Regions from separate parts of the Homo sapiens genome. Here region 1 is linked to region 2. The links are contacts of gene promoters, found by promoter capture Hi-C in human tissues and cell types (Jung and others, 2019). All regions are on one chromosome and are shown on one strand. The core of a region is centred on a gene start or on the middle of the fragment in contact, and the rest is flanking DNA. Distances in the headings are between cores, read along the strand shown. Region 1 overlaps PTPRG (protein tyrosine phosphatase receptor type G). Region 2 holds the start of PTPRG (protein tyrosine phosphatase receptor type G).

Region 1 (3,948 bases), core at 255-2,754, 350 kb after region 2:
GCCTCGTATCCTAATGTTGTCCAACCCAGTGGGTATGAAATGGTAACTCACTGTTTTACCTTGCCTTTCTCTTGTTGCTGGTGATGTTGAGCATCATTTTACACCTTTAACCACTGGATTTTCCTCTCCTGGATATTGCCTGTTCCAATTTGTTCCTGTTCCTTTCCTTTCTATGCTGGTAGTGACTGTGTTTTCTTAATTATGTTTAAGAAATTGAGAGTGAAGCCAGCCTTGTAGTACCTGGTGCAGGCTTTGTGTCTGTGAGATAACTCCCGAGGCTCCTCCTAGAATTTCTTTTTGTCTTTTAACAATCCAAGGCTGTCATTTTCCCTATGCTGTTGATTCCCACCTGCTTTCCCCACAGAACCCCCTGCCTCTGTTCGGTGCAGCCAGGAGGAAATCTGAGCAAGCCCCAGACGGTCCCTGCTTTGATTAAAACTGTCAGGGGCTTCCCTTGGCACTTAGGTGGAAGGCCTGAATCTTTGCCAGGTCTCAGCCCCACCTCCCATGATTCAATTCTTGACTCTGGTTGTCCCCCATTCTTTATGTTCTGGCCACAGAAGACCTCTGCCTTATTCTTCCAGCACCTTCTCTGGGCTCAGCACCTCTTATTCCCTCTGCTGCTCCTGTTGTCCTCTCTGCATCCTCTTTCACCTGGATAACGTCTACTCTTCCAGTTTCTCATAGTGTCTTTAGGAAAGCCCCTCTTGACCTTCATACTCCTCTCTCCTATGACAACCTCTATTTCCTTCTTTCAAACCCTTTCAATACTTATGAACTGATACTTAATACATTTTTGGTTTCAAGACAAAGAGGGGAAGGGGGCAGAGACATTTCCCTTGTGAACTTCGTAATCATGAGGTCAGTACCTGTGCCTTTGTTTCTCCTTACTGTATTTTAAGTGTCTGGCCAGGCACCAGAGACATAGAAGTCCAATTAATATTTGTTGAGAGTGGGATAAAAGAGTAGGCAAATTAAATGCTAATTCCATCACTTTGGCTTCCTATGTTATTTTTACTAAATATTTGAACCTATTTTTCCATTTGGGACTACTTTTGATTCTGCTTTTCACATTCACTATGAAAATACATTTAATTGCATTTTTCTTGTTGATTGAATAAATATACTTAAATACATATCTTTCTGTTAATATTGTCTACAAGTGTATTTTTAATAGGGGATGTATTTTACATGTCATTACCTTAAATGTCATTATATACCATGCTGCTGCGTCATGGTTTGTATGATTGTTTCCCCATTTTGAAGCATTGTTTTCAATTTCATTATTTTATAATGAAATGTAATATTTCTTGGTATAAATTAATTTCTTTTTTCCCCAAGTTACTTCTTTGAAATTACTGCGTTTGAACAGCTCTTATTAAAGGCTGCTAGATCATTTAAAGAAAGATTGAAGTTGGTTTCATTGCCAGCAGTGTGTACCTGTTTATCTAGAGCTCTACCAAAAATTGAATTTTATAATTTCATTGTATTTTAATAGCTGTGAAGTGTAACTTTAAAGTTGTTTCAATTTGCATTTCTTTCACTCCTGGTAAATCTGTGTATTTTTCACCAGGATGATTTACGCCCCCAATTTCTTCTATTTTAATTGTCAGTGTGCATCATTTGATGTCCTTCTAATGTAATTAAATCTTTTCTTTTTGTGAGTGGTGTAAGGAGCGAGTCCTCAGGATCTTATCTAGCTGCCTTCTATTTTTATGAAGTATTTTTGTAGCCTCATAGGATTTCCTTCTAAGAGTATTCCTTGGTACTCTTAGAAAATGCGCAACAGTATAGTCAGCTTTAGAAATACCCCTTCTTTATATATAATTTCCATGGGAATGTAGTTATGGCCCCTTACCACTATTAAGACCAAAACAGTCAGCAAACAAAACAATAACTCTTCTATTTACTTGGGTGAGAACTAGCCCACTGAGAAGGTAGGAGGAATTTGCATAATGAAGAGGGTGTTTTCTTGGTTCCCTTTTAAATTTAAAAATTACTCATGGATTTGCATTCTGTAGTGTCTCAGCATCATTTAGAATTAGGCTTTGCTTACTGAAGTCAAACTGCAAAGCTTCACTTATGTATGACTTAATTACCCTTTAATGTTAAAAAGAGGAAAAAGTAAAGAAAAAAAATCCTTTGGAATTGGTCATCATGATTGATTTTTGTGCTCAGAAGACCGACAGTCTTTTCTAAAAGTTGTATAGCTGTTTTTTGATCTTTTGCCTTTTTGTTTGATATTCTTGAATAATCTGCATAGTTTTGATATTTAATTCCCCTTATTCTTGTCAATCGGGACCAAGATTTGGGAGGTTGGCATTTCTTTATTCTCCATGCAGTTAGGAGTTTCTTGTAAAACATTTGAATTATGCAGAGCCTGGAATCATTTTAAGAGTGGTTTGATGTGGGTATTTTAGTTTACTGGCAGGAAACAGACTCTGGAAACAAGTCATTGATGTTTAGGTTTTATTTTTTTTTCACCATTTTTTAGTATTTTTCTTCCAATTTCTTTTTGCTTTACTGGTTTTTCTCATGCTGAAAATAACATGAACAGGTGTATGTGAAGGACTGCAGTGGACAGCTGGGCAGGCTGCTCACTGTGTGAGAGCACCAGCCAAGGAGACCAATGGCGGCTGCATATCAGAGCAAGGGACACCTTTTCTTTTCATTTAAACTTTAGATTCAGGGGATACATGTGCAGTTATGTTATATGGATGTATTGCATAATGTTGGAGTTTGGGCTTCTGTTGAACCCATCACCCAAATAGTGAGCGTAGTCCCCAGCAGGTACTTTTTCAACCTTTGAGGGGACAACGTTTTCTTTTTTATTTTTTTTCTGAGACGGAGTCTCGCTCTATCACCCAGGCTGGAGTGCAGTGGCGCGATCTTGGCTCACTGCAAGCTCCGCCTCCTGGGTTCATGCCATTCTCCTGCCTCAGCCTCCCGAGTAGCTGGGACTACAGGTGCCCGCCACCACGCCCGCCTAATTTTTTGTATTTTTAGTAGAGACGGGATTTCGCTGTGCTAGCCAGGATGGTTTCAATCTCCTGACCTCGTGATCCGCCTGCCTCAGCATTCCAAAGTGCTGGGATTACAGGCGTGAGCCACCGCACCCGGCCGAGGGACACCTTTTTCTGATTCATACAGATGCACTCTACGAGTGCATATGTATGTGTATGCACTCATATGGATGTGTGGCTTCAGTGGTTGCTCAGAGTTTTCTAGATCTTATATTTCTGTATGAGTTTCTTTACGTCTTTTTGTAACCTTGCTTTTGTGGTCTTCACAAAGGGATATCCAGTGGTCTGTGCCTTTTATTCCATTGAAAGCATATTCCTTACTAAGTCTGCACCCATGGCTGGATGAGCATTACCTCGTTCATTACACCTGAAGTGAACATACTTGGTTATGTGACTAATCTCTAAGGGAAATCTCCCCAGCTTTTAGTTTTGTCTGATGCTTTCTTCTCACCAGTGTGAATGTCTGGGTTTCTAAAGCTGTGTAAACTGAGAGGCGTGGTCTTAGAGAAGAGCTCAGCTCTCAGAGATCGGTCCAAATTTACTAAAGAATCCTATTTTGTTTCAGTGTTATAACAAAAGGAAAACCTCCCCCCTTTTCCAGCCTAATTGAGTATACTTCACAGTGGGATCACAAAGGCTCTGGTTTATGTCCCATCTGAGTGGAAACCTTGGTTCATGGAGTTACTTTTCCTCTCATCTACAGTTCAGTGGTCCTAGAACTGATGTCATGATTAGGTCAACATTAAAGATTCCACTGATCTCTGGCTTTTTGACTTCTTTGACCTACGTTTCCTGTTTGGAAAGGGTTAATTACACTTGACTTAAGCGTTTCTTTTTGTGATTCCATGTGGGGTGCTGGAATAAGGTATAAAGTTGATTAATAGTCTTGGAGCTGGGTCTTCTACTTTAAGACCCAGTTCAAATC
Region 2 (3,922 bases), core at 1,022-3,521:
GTCTATTAAATGGGGAAAATAATTCTCACAGCTGGCAGTATTTTAAGAACTCCATGAGAGAACGGAGCATGGACTTAGGAAGGTATGCTCCCATAAGGCATGGGGGCTTGCCCTTTTTGTTCGAGGCTGTGTTCCCAGTGTGTCCCTCAAACAGTAGGTGCTCAATACATTTGTTGAATGAGCAAGCAGTTTATGGCATGAATTCAGCACAATGCCTGGTAGACAGTAAGCATTCCACAAAGGACAGCTTTTACTGTCCATTTCACAGAGGAGGAAACCTCACCTGAGGACGCTGACACAAGTATTTGACGAGTTTTTCCTATTTTATCACTCGACATTAAGAAGGTAGTCAGGGATGCTGGGGTAATCTAACTTGAGGAACGAATATCCCTCATTACAACACTTCCAAGAAAAATGGCCCTCGCAATCCTTTATAAAGAAGTCAGGATTCCAATAAAACCAGGAAGGACCACATTCCAAAGCAAACAAACTCGCCTCATTCCCCACCCTGGGGGAGGGTGTTCACCCCCGTTCTGCTAAAGATAGAGCTAGGGCCCTCCCCAGGAACTTCCTGGCTTTTATTAGTTTGTAATCCCATACGTAACTTTTCAAAGGTTTTTCTTTTGGAAGTGTGGGTGTGAAAATGCTTCCTTAATCACATCGAACGGGAGGATCTCCGACCATCTGTACTTTATTTGAAAACCTAGCATCCGGTTGGGATGTTTGGGTGGGTGGAGGACCCTGCCGTGTTGGGATGAAACAGCAGGGACACGTTTAAAACACAAGAACCATGCGCGGTGGCTCACGCCTGTAATCTCAGCACTTTGGGAGGCTGAGGCAGGCGGATCACAAGGTCAGGAGTTCGAGACCAGCCTTGCCAAAACGGTGAAACCCCGCCTCTACAAAAAAAACCAAAATAAAACAAAAAACAAACAAAAAAAACCACCAAAAAAATAATCAGCCGGGCGTGGTGGCGGGCGCCTGTAGTCCCAGCTACTCGGGAGGCTGAGGCAGGAGAATCGCCCGAACCCGGGAGGCGAAGGTTGTAGTGAGCCGAAATCGAGCCACTGTACTCCAGCCTGGGCGACGGAGCGAGACTCCGTCTCAAAACAAAACAAAACAATCCCACGTCAAGATCGCTTTGAAACACAGGCAGAAAAATTAGGCAAAAAATGTCAAACGGCTAATTACCTTGGCTCAGTTACACATTTACTCGAAAGCCCGCCTCCCCCACTTTTAGCCCCAGCGTTAAGAATGTAAAATAGGGCGCTTAGAAGTCTAAGCGATAAAGATCTTCTTACCGAGAGCCAAGGGACAAAACTCATTACAGATAAGCCTAGTCCTCCCATTTCCCCCGGACGCCTCTCCCCGATTGCTAAAGAAGCAGCCGCTCCCCGGGTAGCTGCCAGGAAATCAGTCCGGCCCCGCGGCGCTGCTTTCACCCTGCAGGGTGTAAGAGGCGCACTTCCTGCGCCCTCCCCGCGGCCAAACCGGGGTGCGGGAACCTTCTCCAGAGAAGCTGCGAGTTGGGGAAACTCCGCCACCGATCCATCGTGGCGCCGGGAAAGGGGATGCGGGGCTCGGAAGGGCTAGATTTCGCAATCCTGGGATCGACATTCCTCCCCTCCCCCACTTTCCCCAGCCTTGGACTGGGCCAATGAAAGCCCGAAAAAGAAAAAAAAAAAAAATTAAATCTCAATGTAGCCGGAGTGCAAAGGCCGCTCGGCTTTGTTTCCCGGCGGGGGAATGCGCTGTGTTGGAGGCGCGAACAGGAGCCGCAGACGGTGAGCCTCACCGCTGCAAATGCCAGGGCAGTGAAGCCGAACAGAAAACCCCATCGCTTTAAAAAGGCAGCTGTCCGCCCTCCCCCTTTCCCCTCGCCAGGGCGAGGGGCCCCTCAAGTCCGGGATCCGCGAGCTGCGCGGAGGATCTCGCCAAACCCGAGCACCGTGCGGCGTCTTTTAAGAGCTCGAACAACGGGAATCCAGCAAAAAACAAGCCGGCCCCAGAAGGCAGCCTCCCTCCTCTCTCCGCGCACGGGCTACAATCGCCCCCAGTCCCCAAACTGTCCCAGTAGAGGCCGCGCGGAGAGAGCAGAGCCGAGGGACCCAGCGCAAGGCGGGAGCCAAGCGCGGCTGCTTTAAGAACGCGGAGAGCGCGCGCCCGCCGCCAGCTGGCCCGGGCTGCGCGCCCCCGCCGCCACCGCGCGCCCCCTGTTCGCTCGCTCCTTCGCTCGCCGGCTTTAAAGTCTCTGCCAGGATCCATGCTCACATGTTACTTCCTGTATGGAGGCATGGCCAGTTTCCAGCCCCGCGCTCTTCGTTCCTTCCCAGCCTGCGCCGGAGCCACAACTTTCAGGAGCATGGACTGAAGGCGCCCTCGCCCCAGCGCCCCTCTGAGATCCTTTGTGTTTTCCTCCGTTTCCTCCGGCCGTTTCTATTTTGGGGGGCTCTCCGCTCCCCCTGCCTCTCCCCTCCCCTTCCCCTCTCGCAAACATGCCTCCTTCCTTCCCGGGGCCCTGGAAGGAGCTGCCTGCCTGAAGCCCGGAGACGCCGCGCCGCGCTCAGCCCCGCCGCCGCCCGCCGGCTCTCGGGCTGTGCTGCGCTGCCGACTCAAGTTGGGGATCCTCGGCTGCTCGCCGCCGCCGCCCGCGGTCCCTGCCTGCCCCAGGCCCGGGGCATCGCCGCCGGCCGCCGACTCCGCGCCCTGCCCGATCGGCTCTCTCCTTTTTAAACGGAAAGCAGCCTTTCTCCGCCGAGAGGATCGTCCCCAGCGTGGCTCTGCGTTCCCGGTCACTTTTTGAGATTTTCCGGGGGGCGCTCGGCGGCTTCCCGGATTCCAAGGGGACTCGGGCCGCCGAGCGCGGGGGGCCCGTGGAGCGGGCGAGCCGGGGAAGCGCCCCGGCTTAGCGGAGGCTCGCACGGAGGCAAGAACTTATTCAACAAGTTTACCTCCCTGCTTTCCTCTTTTCGATGTGCGTTTTCGGACATGCGGAGGTTACTGGAACCGTGTTGGTGGATTTTGTTCCTGAAAATCACCAGTTCCGTGCTCCATTATGTCGTGTGCTTCCCCGGTGAGTGCCGGCCGCCGAGGGGATGCGGCCCCGGCCGGCGCGCGTTGGGGATGCGGAGTTGTCGCCTGGGCGCGGAGCTCCGGCGCCCGTCCGGGAGACCCTGGAGAGGGTGGAGGGTGGCCCGGCGCCCGGATAGGAGAAAAGGATTGCTCCGCTGGCTTGGATGATGTTTAGGGAGGCAGGCTAGTGGTCGAGGAAGGTGGAGGCAGGGGCTGGCCGGGGAGGGGGCTGGGGGACGCGGGGGTCTGCTCCCGCTCCCTTTTGGGGGTCCTGGGGAGCTGGAATCGGGAGAAAGGGGGACTTGCTTTGCTGACTCGTCGCCGATCGGGAGAACTCGAGTTGTGGGGCGGTTGGGGAGACTGAGGCCATGGAAAGGATGCTTCTGTGGGTTTGGGGGGCCCGGGATGAGCCCCCTCGCTCTGGCGGGTATTGAAGGAACTCAGAAGGTGGGGGTTTGCTTTGCTGTTCTCCATCCCTTTGGGAGGGCTAGGTTTCGGGGAATGGAAGTCGGAGGCTGGCTGCGGAGGACTGAGGATGTGTGGGGAGCAGCCTGCGTTCTGGGTCGGGGGCGTCCTCCCTCTCTCTGGGGGCTGGGGCGCGGGCAGCACTTCGGTGCCGGCGTGAGGCAGCCTCCTTGGGCGCAGTGAGACGGCAGGGCGCAGGCGGTTTCGGAGAGATCCGTGTCTCCCCTAGCCCCGGCCCGTGGCCCTTTCCCTCCGCTGCTCTGCTCGATTGGATTGCCTGGGTCTGGACGCGGGGAGGGGGCGGGGGCGGTTTCGGCGGCCGGGGCGGTTTCGGCGGCCGGGTTGCTGTTCGCGCCGGGGCTGATTTTTTTCCTGTCTCGCGCGC

Evidence for each region. The method cuts DNA at HindIII sites, captures the fragments that hold promoters and counts their contacts. A contact is called where the count stands out against the background at its distance.
Region 1: a contact is called between a fragment that was not itself captured here and the fragment with the promoter of PTPRG in region 2, in 1 of the 25 tissues and cell types used here (dorsolateral prefrontal cortex).

Annotation. Positions count from the first base shown.
Region 1 is chr3:61,910,397-61,914,344 of GRCh38, forward strand. The region is part of intron 2 of PTPRG (protein tyrosine phosphatase receptor type G); the gene reads left to right. Among named protein-coding and RNA genes, the nearest start is that of PTPRG, 350 kb to the left of the region's middle. The HindIII fragment of the contact is 5,522 bases long and covers 1-3,948 here.
Region 2 is chr3:61,559,300-61,563,221 of GRCh38, forward strand. It overlaps PTPRG (protein tyrosine phosphatase receptor type G), which reads left to right and starts at 2,272. Exons shown (of 30, transcript NM_002841.4): 1 at 2,272-3,073. The coding sequence starts at 2,989. RefSeq lists an enhancer at 374-1,049. The HindIII fragment of the contact is 9,021 bases long and covers 1-3,922 here.